3 separate regions of the Homo sapiens genome follow, and all the other regions are linked to region 2. The links are contacts of gene promoters, found by promoter capture Hi-C in blood cells and fetal thymus (Javierre and others, 2016). All regions are on one chromosome and are shown on one strand. Each heading gives the region's core, a stretch centred on a gene start or on the middle of the fragment in contact. The rest is flanking DNA. Distances are from core to core; before and after follow the strand shown.

Region 1 (3,333 bases), core at 770-3,269, 240 kb after region 2:
GGGATTATTCATCAGCAAGTGATCCACTGGGGATCTTTTCATGAGTGTCCTATTCCTTTCTGAGTTAATCACCTGCCCCTTGAGAGTGGGATTTCAGATGCTGTTAGATTTCCCATTGTGTTTTGTGTTTCCCATTGTTCCTGGCTCTGGGTTGGGCACGGGGTGTGACATGAACAAGGTCCTGGGTGTGGGCTGCAGAGGTGAATCCTCCAGGAGCTTGCCCTCTGCTGGGATTCCAAGGCTGGCTGGAGAGGAGTGGGCAGCAGGGAGGTGGGAAGTCAGAGAAGGTGCCCACCAAAGGCCAATTAGGTCAGTCTCCTGTTTGGAAGTTCCAGGTCTATCATATCCTGCCTTATAGTTTACAATACACTTTTGGGAGATTATGTCTTTTGAGTCTTTTAGTTTAGTCCTGCCTATAAAATGAGTAGGATAAGTGTTATCCCAGCTTCATAGGTATGGAGTCTCATAGATGAGGCTCAGGGACGGGGGTGCCTCACCCAAGGTCACTCTGCCAGGAGCTCATTTTTCCTGTGATCTGTGATAGTTTCTTTTGTCAACCTTTTTCTTCTTCTCCTTCCTTGCTGCCTGATTGTCCCCAGCCATCCCAGCTCAGTAGCTTTTCCTGGGATAACTGTGATGAAGGGAAGGACCCTGCGGTGATCAGAAGCCTGACTCTGGAGCCTGACCCCATCATCGTTCCTGGAAATGTGACCCTCAGTGTCATGGGCAGCACCAGTGTCCCCCTGAGTTCTCCTCTGAAGGTGAGCCTGGGGGTGGGTGGAGAAGGGGAGGTGCGAGGGTCTGGCCAGCAGGGGTACTGGGGCATGTATGCTTGGGGAACTGTGAAGAATTTCAGAATCCTGGATTCCCAGAGAATAGTACAGGACATGTAGATTCAGACACTCTTTCACAGGTTCATGGAATCTCAGGATCATAAGATTGAAAGGAATCTCTGATGTCAGCGCCAGCAACTTCCTGGTGAGGGCAGGAGTGACGGATACCTTGCACCTGGCAGAAGCGTCCTGGCCTTCTCTGGGCCTGGTGGCCAACTGCTCATTATTGTCTGACAGCTCTGGTTGGCCAATTTGGTTTTGTTGTTAATTATAAAATTGATATACCAATTAGCCAGTAATATATAGTCACTTTAGAAAACACAAGTGGTCAAAAAATAAATAAAATAGGCCAGGTGTGGTGGCTCATGCCTGTAATCCCAACACTTTGGGAGGCTGAGGTGGGTGGATCTTTTGAGGTCAGGAGTTTGAGACCAGCCTGGCCAACATAGTGAAACCCCATCTCTACTAAAAGTACAAAAATTAGCTGGGCGTGGTGGCATGTGCCTGTAATCCTAGCTACTCAGGAGGCTGAGGTAGGAGAATTGCTGGAACCCAAGAGGCAGAGGTTGCAGAAAGCCAGGATCGCACCACTGCACTCCAGCCTGGGTGACAGAGTGAAACTCTGTCCCAAAATAAATAAATAAATAAAATAAATCACTTGAAATCTCACTACCTAGTGATAAGGGATAAGCACTTTTAACATCTTATAGGATATTCTTTGCAACTTTCCCCCATACAATTACATACATAACACACATATTTATTTTTAATGGATATGTATGATAATAGGCAGTGCTCATTGTAAATGTCCTCCAGTAATCTAAATCCTAGAGATAGTCAGTGTTTGCTCTTTATATATCCCATCAGAATTTTTATGTGTTTGTAAATATATACACACTTATACTCATGGGATTATATGATATGTGCTATTATACTTGCTATTTTTTTTGCCTCATACTATATGTCCATATCTTTCCAAGGATTAGGTGGCTCTACTTATTCAATTTTTTTTTATCCAATCATTATTTTATTATTTTAATGTATTGTAATTTTAGAGACAGTGTGTCACTCTGTTGCTCAGGCTGGAGTGCAGTAGTGTGATCATGGCTTACTGCAGCCTTGACCTCCTGGGCTTAAGGGATCCTCCCACCTCAGCCTCCTGAGTAGCTGGGACCACAGGTTCATGTCACCATGCTTACCTAATTTTTTTATTTTTTATGGAGACGGAGCCTCCCTGTGTTGCCCAGGCTGGTCTCAAACTCCTGAGTTCAAGCAATCCTCCTGCCTCAGACTCTCAAAATGTTGGGATTATAGGCGTGAGCCACCTTGCTCAGCCCACCCAATCATTTTTAATGGCAGAAATATTCTGATGTGGATCTTTCATAATTTATATAACAAGTCTATTGTTGAACATTTAGTTTGTTTCCAGGGTAGTTTTTATTTGTTTGTTTGTTTATTTGTTTGTTTTGAGACAGGTTCTTACTCTGTTGCCTAGGCTGGAGTGCAGTAGCGCAATCTCAGCTCCCTGCAACCTCCACTTCCCGGGTTCAAGCGATTCTCCTGTCTCAGCCTCCCAAAGTGCTGGGATTACAGGCACCTGCCATTGCGCCCCACTAATTTTTGTATTTTTAGTAGAGATGGGGTTTCACCATGTTGGCCAGGCTGGTCTTGAACTCCTGACCTCAGGCAATGTGCCTGCCTCGGCCTCCCAAAGTGCTGGGATTACAGACACCTGCCACCATGCCCAGCTACTTTTTGTATTTTTAGTAGAGATGGGGTTTCACCATGTTATCCAGGCTGGTCTTGAACTCCTGACCTCAGGCAATCCACCTGCCTCAGCCTCCCAAAGTGCTGGGATTATAGGCTTGAGCCACTGTACCTGGCCAGAGGGTTTTTTTTGTTTGTTTGTTTTTTGTTTTGCTGTAGTAACCACCTTTGTAGAAATTATTCTTATAGTACATCTTTTTATAATTTTCTGATTCTCTAGATACACACTTTTTAGGTCTTTTGATACATTTTGCCAAAGTGCCTCCCAATGTTTGAATAAACCTGCATCATTCCTAGTGAGCGTAGATGTCTATTCATAAGTTTATTTGCCTTTTGTATTTACTTTGGGAATAACCTGTTTGTTTCCATCCATTGACTATTTTAGGGGTGTATGTTTTTATATTTTCTTAGAAAACAATGAAGACTTTTCATATATCCATTGCAACACCATTTAATATGGTCCTTTCCTCTCTAGCTAAAATTGCTACCTTTATATGATGCTCCTCTATGCCCTTCAGTCTGTTCCTGATCCAGATCTATTCTAGTACCAGTTTTGTGTTAATTATTTAGAAGATTCCTGATTTGGATTCTGTGTTTCTATCATTATCCTTAGACCTGTCTTAATCACAGCTCCTACGTTATGGGCTTTCCTTGAGCAATACCTGAGTTAGAAAATCATGTGGAAAGTGCTTTGCACAGGGCCTGGCACCCAGGACATGCTCAGTACATTTTA
Region 2 (3,012 bases), core at 281-2,780:
GTAGAGAATGCAAAACTTGAGAGACATCTTCCAAATTCCCAGGGGGATGTTAATACCTTTAATCATAGTAAAGGTATGGTTTCTCAAGGCATTTCTTGGTCAGAAGAAAGTTCCAGAAGGCACTTAATCCTAGGACTCACACTACCAAGGCTACAGCCAGGCCAACTGCCTCACAATAACCTTAGAACATGTCTGAAGACAGATTTTCAGCTTCTGCCCCTAGAGATTCTAATGCAGTGATTCCAAAGTGGGGTCCAGGAATCTGTATTAAAGGCTTCCCAGTTGACTCTGGTGGTCAGAGAGATTTGAGACTGATTCCATCACATTCCCCATCTGTGAACGGGATCATACCTAGACAGCCCAGCCCTAGAACTGCCTGGTCTGATCCTAAGTGTTCCATGGAGATTTTGTTTTTTTAATGTAATGAATGATTAAGTCAGCAAATACTTTACATCTCTTGTGTGCTAGGCCCTGTGCCAGGTGGTGATTATGGGCCCTATTCTCAAAGGACTCCTGGTCTCCGTCTGTCACTTACTTTAGAAACAAGTCATCTAGCCAGAGCCAGAAGGGCACTGGAGATCACTAATCAATCCCATCATTACATAGCTGAGGAAACTGAGGCCCAGAGAGTAACTGCAACATGTTAAAGACTACACAGGGAGCAAATTTATTTTCTGCTTCTAAGCCAGGTGGTTTGGCCACAGATAGGCCAAGAAGAATACGAACAGACAAGCCTTGCTGGGTTTCCCACTCAGTTTATTACTATTAGACCATTCCCTTTTTCCCCACTCACATTTCTGCGCATTTCCATGGTCTTCATAGAATCTAAGCCTAAAAATAGAGTTTTCCTTGAGTCTTTGGGTCTTCATTTCTGAAGACTCTCATGTCACAGAAAACTTTAATTAAATAAATCGTTATGCTTTTCTCTTGCTAACCTTTTTCTACAGGCATGTCAGCTGTGATCCTTATGATGGGGAGGAAAGGCACCCCACCTTCTCTGTCCCTACAGTCCTAATGCCCTACCCAGAATGGGGTTTTCAAAATCCCAGGACACCCACTCTTTGTTTCTTAAGCACTAAACCTATATATAGTAAATGTTTCTGGAAGTTTAACTTCAGCTCTTGCTGAAATTTTAAACCCTCAATTTCCAGAGGACCATCGCCAGGTGTTTTTAAAACCTCGATAGGAATAAGAAATGCTTCCCAGAATGGAGACTTCCATCAGTTCTAGGGAGCTATTAGCCCCCTTGCCCTGGCTGTAATGGAGACCGCTGTGTCTGCCTCCTTTCGCACTTTGGAGCCAAAAGAGGAAGGGACCGCCTCCCACGTCCACAGGGACCTGACTTCCACCTCTCTGCCCAGATTTGCTTATGTCACTGTCGCCCCGGGACGGGGAGGTGGGGAGCTGAGGGCAAGTCGCGCCCGCCCCTGAAATCCCAGCCGCCTAGCGATTGGCTGCAAGGGTCTCGGCTTGGCCGCGGATTGGTCACACCCGAGGGCTTGAAAGGTGGCTGGGAGCGCCGGACACCTCAGACGGACGGTGGCCAGGGATCAGGCAGCGGCTCAGGCGACCCTGAGTGTGCCCCCACCCCGCCATGGCCCGGCTGCTGCAGGCGTCCTGCCTGCTTTCCCTGCTCCTGGCCGGCTTCGTCTCGCAGAGCCGGGGACAAGAGAAGTCGAAGGTGAGTGAGCCTCCGGGCCGGGGGCCGGGAGAAAAAACCTAGCCCCTCGGTGTCCAGCGCTCAGTGCAATGCACCCCTTTTCCCAGGCTCCCCGCCAGATGGGCAATCCCCAGGTGCGAGAGACCTCCTGAACCCCTTTTGCCGCCCCCTCCGCCGCCGGGACCCCGCCCCCGACCGTCGTCGTCTCGTAGTTCCATCTGTTGGAGAGCCGAGACCTGGTGCTTCAGGCGGGCAGAATGACTAAGGGAGGAAGGTCTCTCTCCCCGAGCTCGCACTTTCTCCCCACTGCCACCTCGAGGGTCGCCTTGCTACATCTATGTCACCTCCGTGCCTGAGCTGCTCCCCTTCAGTAGGGCCTAAGAGGGAGGGCGTCACAGAAAAAAATGCCCAGCGTCTGGGTGGGCTGTGCAAGTTCCCAGGGAGAGAGACAAGGAGAAAGGAGAGAGGCAGCTGGGTGGTCCTGGTCCTGAAGAACTGCTGTGGGGGGCTCTTCTACCCCAAGAATGATACAGGCAGGTAGAAATGGCCACTTGGATTCAGGGCATTGGTAGAAGAGGCAGAGATCTGTGCTAGAAAGAGCTCTGGAGTGACAGTGCAGAACACTCAGGACCCTGAGTCCTTACCTGCTCCTGGACCCCCGTTTCTCCATCTGCAGGGGAGAGTTTGGGGGTGGGAGTGCATGGGGCACAATGAAGCTGAGGGCCTCAGAGGGGATGCTTGGAGAAGCTGAAAAATCCACAAGCTGTTCTCTGAAATTTCCTCCCCTGGGGCAGCCTCACTACCCAGGACCCACTGTCCTCATTAGCCTGAGGAAACCTGGTAGTTGGAGAAAGCTGGGGACTGCTAATTCAGAAGAAGAGGTAGAATTCTCTAGAGCCTCAGTCTATTTCCAGCAGGTGTGTGGCCCACACCTGGAGTGGGGATACTGAGGCCAGGAGTGGGATGACCCAGCATGCTTATCTCCTTTGACAGTATGTACTGGGGTGGGCTCTGTAGACCTCTCCTCTACCCAGGGAGTGGGAGTGGGTGGGGAAGGAGGCAGAAGCCAGGTGTAGGGATAGACTCAAAGCGAGCGATTTCTGTCTCCAACTTCCCAACATGCATAACTCACATTTTTGCAAGCTCTGAGCTTTTGTTTCTAAAATCCTCTGGGTCTTCACTTTAATTAAGTTCTTATGAGTCTAGGATTCCGTTTCCAAAATTCTGTCCACTTCTCAGGAAGCCCATTGGAAGCACAGGGTTCCTTCCATGTTACTCACCCCTTTTCGGTCCTCAGCCTAAATCCGATTAATCAGCCTCTCCTTGGAGTCAGTCTAAATGGATGTGAAGCC
Region 3 (3,272 bases), core at 488-2,987, 140 kb after region 2:
TTTTGATTTGCATTTCCCTTCTGACTAATGATGTGGAGTATCTTTTTTGTGTGCTCATTGGCCACTATTTGTACATCTTCTTTGGAAAAATATCTAATCATGCTTTTTGCTCATTTTTAAATTGGATTTTTTGTCTTTTTTGTTGTTAAGTTATATGAGTTCTTTTTATATTCTGGATAAGACTTTTGTGTTTGTTTGAGACAGAGGCTCGTTCTGTTGCCCAGGCTGGAGTGCAGTGGTGCCATGTCGGCTCACTGCAACCTTCACCTCGTGGGTTCAAGCAATTCTTTCCGCCTCAGCCTCCCAAATAGCTGGGATTACAGGCACCTGCTACCATGCCCAGTTAATTTTTGTATTTTTTTAGTAGAGACGGGGATTCATCATGTTGGCCAGGTTGGTCTTGAACTCCTGACCTCAGGTGATCCACCTGCCTTGGCCTCCCAAAGTGCTGGGATTACAGGTGTGAGCCACCGCACCTGGCCAAGACATATTTTTTAAAGGGTCACTGAAGTCTCCTGTGTTGGAAATACTGAATACTGTTGGGGGAAGAGTAGAAGAAGGGGATCTGCTAGGAGATTTTGCAGTAATCCAGGCAAGAGACAGGCTGGTATAAATGCAGGTGGGGGAAGTGGTTGGAGATGGGATGTATTTGAAGGTTGAACATGATTTCCGAAGGATCAGGTGGGAGATGAGAAAGAGTCAAGAATGGCTTCAGGGATCCTGGCCTGAGCCACTGGAAGGATGGAGTTACCATCAACTGAAATGAGCAAGACTGCAGGGAAAGCAATTTTGGGAATTAGAAGTGGGGAAAAGATCAGGAGTTCAGTTTTTGACCAGTTTGTTGAACATTTCTATTAGACACCCAACAGGAGATGTCAAGTACGCAGTTGGCTAGTCAAGTCTGGAGTTCAAGAGATGAGATCCTTAAGGGAGAAGAGAACTAAATATGGAGTCCTAGTTCGGCAAAAGGAGTCAGGCTGGCAGGACCAAGGGAAAGCAAAAAGAGAAAGCAGATAAGCTATAAGTCTGCCTTTCTTCATGGCCCAGGATGCATAGCCCTCCTGTGCGAATAACTCACAATCTTATCTGCGCCCAGCTATTGCCAGACCCTCACCTGATAGAAAAATGCACGCAAGCTCCCTGCACCCTTGATGTTATCAGTACTGCACAAAGCCCTCTTCAGCACACAGCACAAGCACCATCCTATAAAATCCTTAGCCAGATTTTGTTTTCTTGCAGTTAGCTTCTGTTTTGCTAACTTGCCCGTTGCACCCTTGCAACGTATTTTCTTTTCTTTTCTGTTTTTCTTTTGAGATGAAGTCTCACTCTGTCGCCCAGACTGTAGTGCAGTGGCACTATCTCGACTCACCACAACCTCCGCCTCCCGGGTTCAAGCGATTCTTCTGCCTTAGGCTCCTGAGTAGCTGGGATTACAGGTGCGTGCCACCACACCTGGCTAATATTTGTATTTTTAGTAGAGATGGGTTTTCACCATGTTGATCAGGCTGGTCTCAAACTCCTGACCTCGTGATCCACCTCGGCTTCCCAAAGTGCTGGGATTATAGGCATGAGCCACCACGTCTGGCAGCAATGTATTTTCATACTTTCTCTAATAAATCTGCCTTTCTTTACCTACAACTGCCTTGGTAAATTCTTCTTACTGCCTGTACCGCCAGCCCCAAATAGTTGCTGATCACCCACGATGCTAAGGACCGAGTCTGAGACACTCTTATGTTACCATTTGGGGAGAGGCCGGACCCGGTGGCTCATGCCTGTAATTCCAGCACTTTGGGAGGCTGAGGTGGGTGGATCACTTGAGGCCAGGAGTTCAAGACCAGCCTGACCAACATAGTTAAACCCCATCTCTACTAAAAATACAAAAAGTTAGCTGGACGTGGTGGTGCATGCTGTAATCCCAGCTACTTGGGAGGCTGAGGCAGGAGAATCACTCCCAGGAGGTGGAGATTGCAGTGAGATGGCACCATTGCACTCCAGCCTGAGAGACAGAGTGAGACTCTCAAAAAATAAAATAAAAGAGTTGGGGAGAAGAAAAGAATTCAGCAAAGGTGACTGGGAAGGAGATTGTAGTAAGATGGGAGGAAACTACCCCAGGAGAATGTGGCAGCAAAGTGAAAAATAAGGGAGTGATCAGGTGTGTCAAATGCTGCTTTTAGGTAAAGTAGGACAAGGTCTACAAATCTATCATTGGGTTTAGCAATGTGAAAGCCAACTTATCTCTTGCTGTGAATTGCAGAATGTTGGGGGTAAAGGCCTGATGGGAACGGTGTAAGATAAAAAGCCTAAACTACTTATTCTGGGAGTTTTGCTGCGAAGGCCAGCAAGGGAATGAGGCAGTGTCTGGCAAGGGAATTGGTGTCAAGAGAAGGGCTTTTGTTTGATTTTTTTAAAGATTGAAGACATAACAGCATATTTGTATGCTGGTGGGAGTTATCATATAGAAGGTAAAAAAATTGATGGAGGAGAGAGAAGGGAGAATTCCTGCAGCAATGTTTGGAGACAGAATGGGCTGTAGTGTACAAATGTCAGGGCTATTTGTATTCTTAATTTGCAATAAAAGTAACTGAAATTTTTGATCTTTGCCCAAATTCAGCCCACGTGACTGAGGCAGGATTGAAAGCCAGATTCCCTTGACTGCAGAGCCCAGGGCCTTAATTCCTGAGCTACAGCAGCAAGTAGGAGTAAACACTAATATACTGCTCATTCTCTTTGAGCTAATCATCACTTACAGGAATCAATCCTAAGAAAATAATCTAAAATACAGAGGAAGCTGTAGGCCCAACACTGTTTTATTGTTGTTGTTGGAGACAGGGTCTCACTCTGTCACTCAGGCTGGACTGCAGTGGTGTGATCATGGCTCAACTGCAGCCTTGACCTCCCCAGGATCAGGTGATCCCCTCACCTCAGCCTCCCAAGTAGCTGAGACTACAGGTGTATGCCACCTGCCCAGCTAATTTTTGTATTTTTTGTAGAGATGGCGTGTCACCATCTTGCCTAGGCTGGTCTCCTATGCTCAAGCCATCCTCCTGCCTCAGCCTCCCAAAATGCTGGGATTACACCAGCATTGGTATAATGTGAGCCACCATGCCCAACTTTTTTTTTTTCATTCTTTTTTTTTTTTTGAGACAGGGTCTCATTCTGTCCCCCAGGCTGGAGCAGTAGCACAATCTCAGCTCACTTCGGCCTCAACCTCCTGGGCTCAAGCTATCCTGATGCTTCAGCCTACGGAGTAGCTGGGACTACAGGTGTGCACC

The links. The method cuts DNA at HindIII sites, captures the fragments that hold promoters and counts their contacts. A CHiCAGO score of 5 or more calls a contact.
Region 1: a contact is called between a fragment that was not itself captured here and the fragment with the promoter of GPX3 in region 2, in 1 of 17 cell types (neutrophils). The highest score is 5.2, in neutrophils.
Region 3: a contact is called between a fragment that was not itself captured here and the fragment with the promoter of GPX3 in region 2, in 1 of 17 cell types (M2 macrophages). The highest score is 5.7, in M2 macrophages.

The regions. Positions count from the first base shown.
Region 1 is chr5:151,259,156-151,262,488 of GRCh38, forward strand. It overlaps GM2A (ganglioside GM2 activator), which reads left to right. Exons shown (of 4, transcript NM_000405.5): 2 at 600-761. Among named protein-coding and RNA genes, the nearest start is that of GM2A, 7.6 kb to the left of the region's middle. The HindIII fragment of the contact is 6,835 bases long and covers 1-3,333 here.
Region 2 is chr5:151,019,061-151,022,072 of GRCh38, forward strand. GPX3 (glutathione peroxidase 3) reads left to right here and starts at 1,531. Exons shown (of 5, transcript NM_002084.5): 1 at 1,531-1,681. The coding sequence starts at 1,595. RefSeq lists an enhancer at 2,976-3,012. The HindIII fragment of the contact is 15,890 bases long and covers 1-3,012 here.
Region 3 is chr5:151,160,342-151,163,613 of GRCh38, forward strand. No RefSeq gene overlaps it. Among named protein-coding and RNA genes, the nearest start is that of ANXA6, 4.2 kb to the left of the region's middle. The HindIII fragment of the contact is 7,646 bases long and covers 1-3,272 here.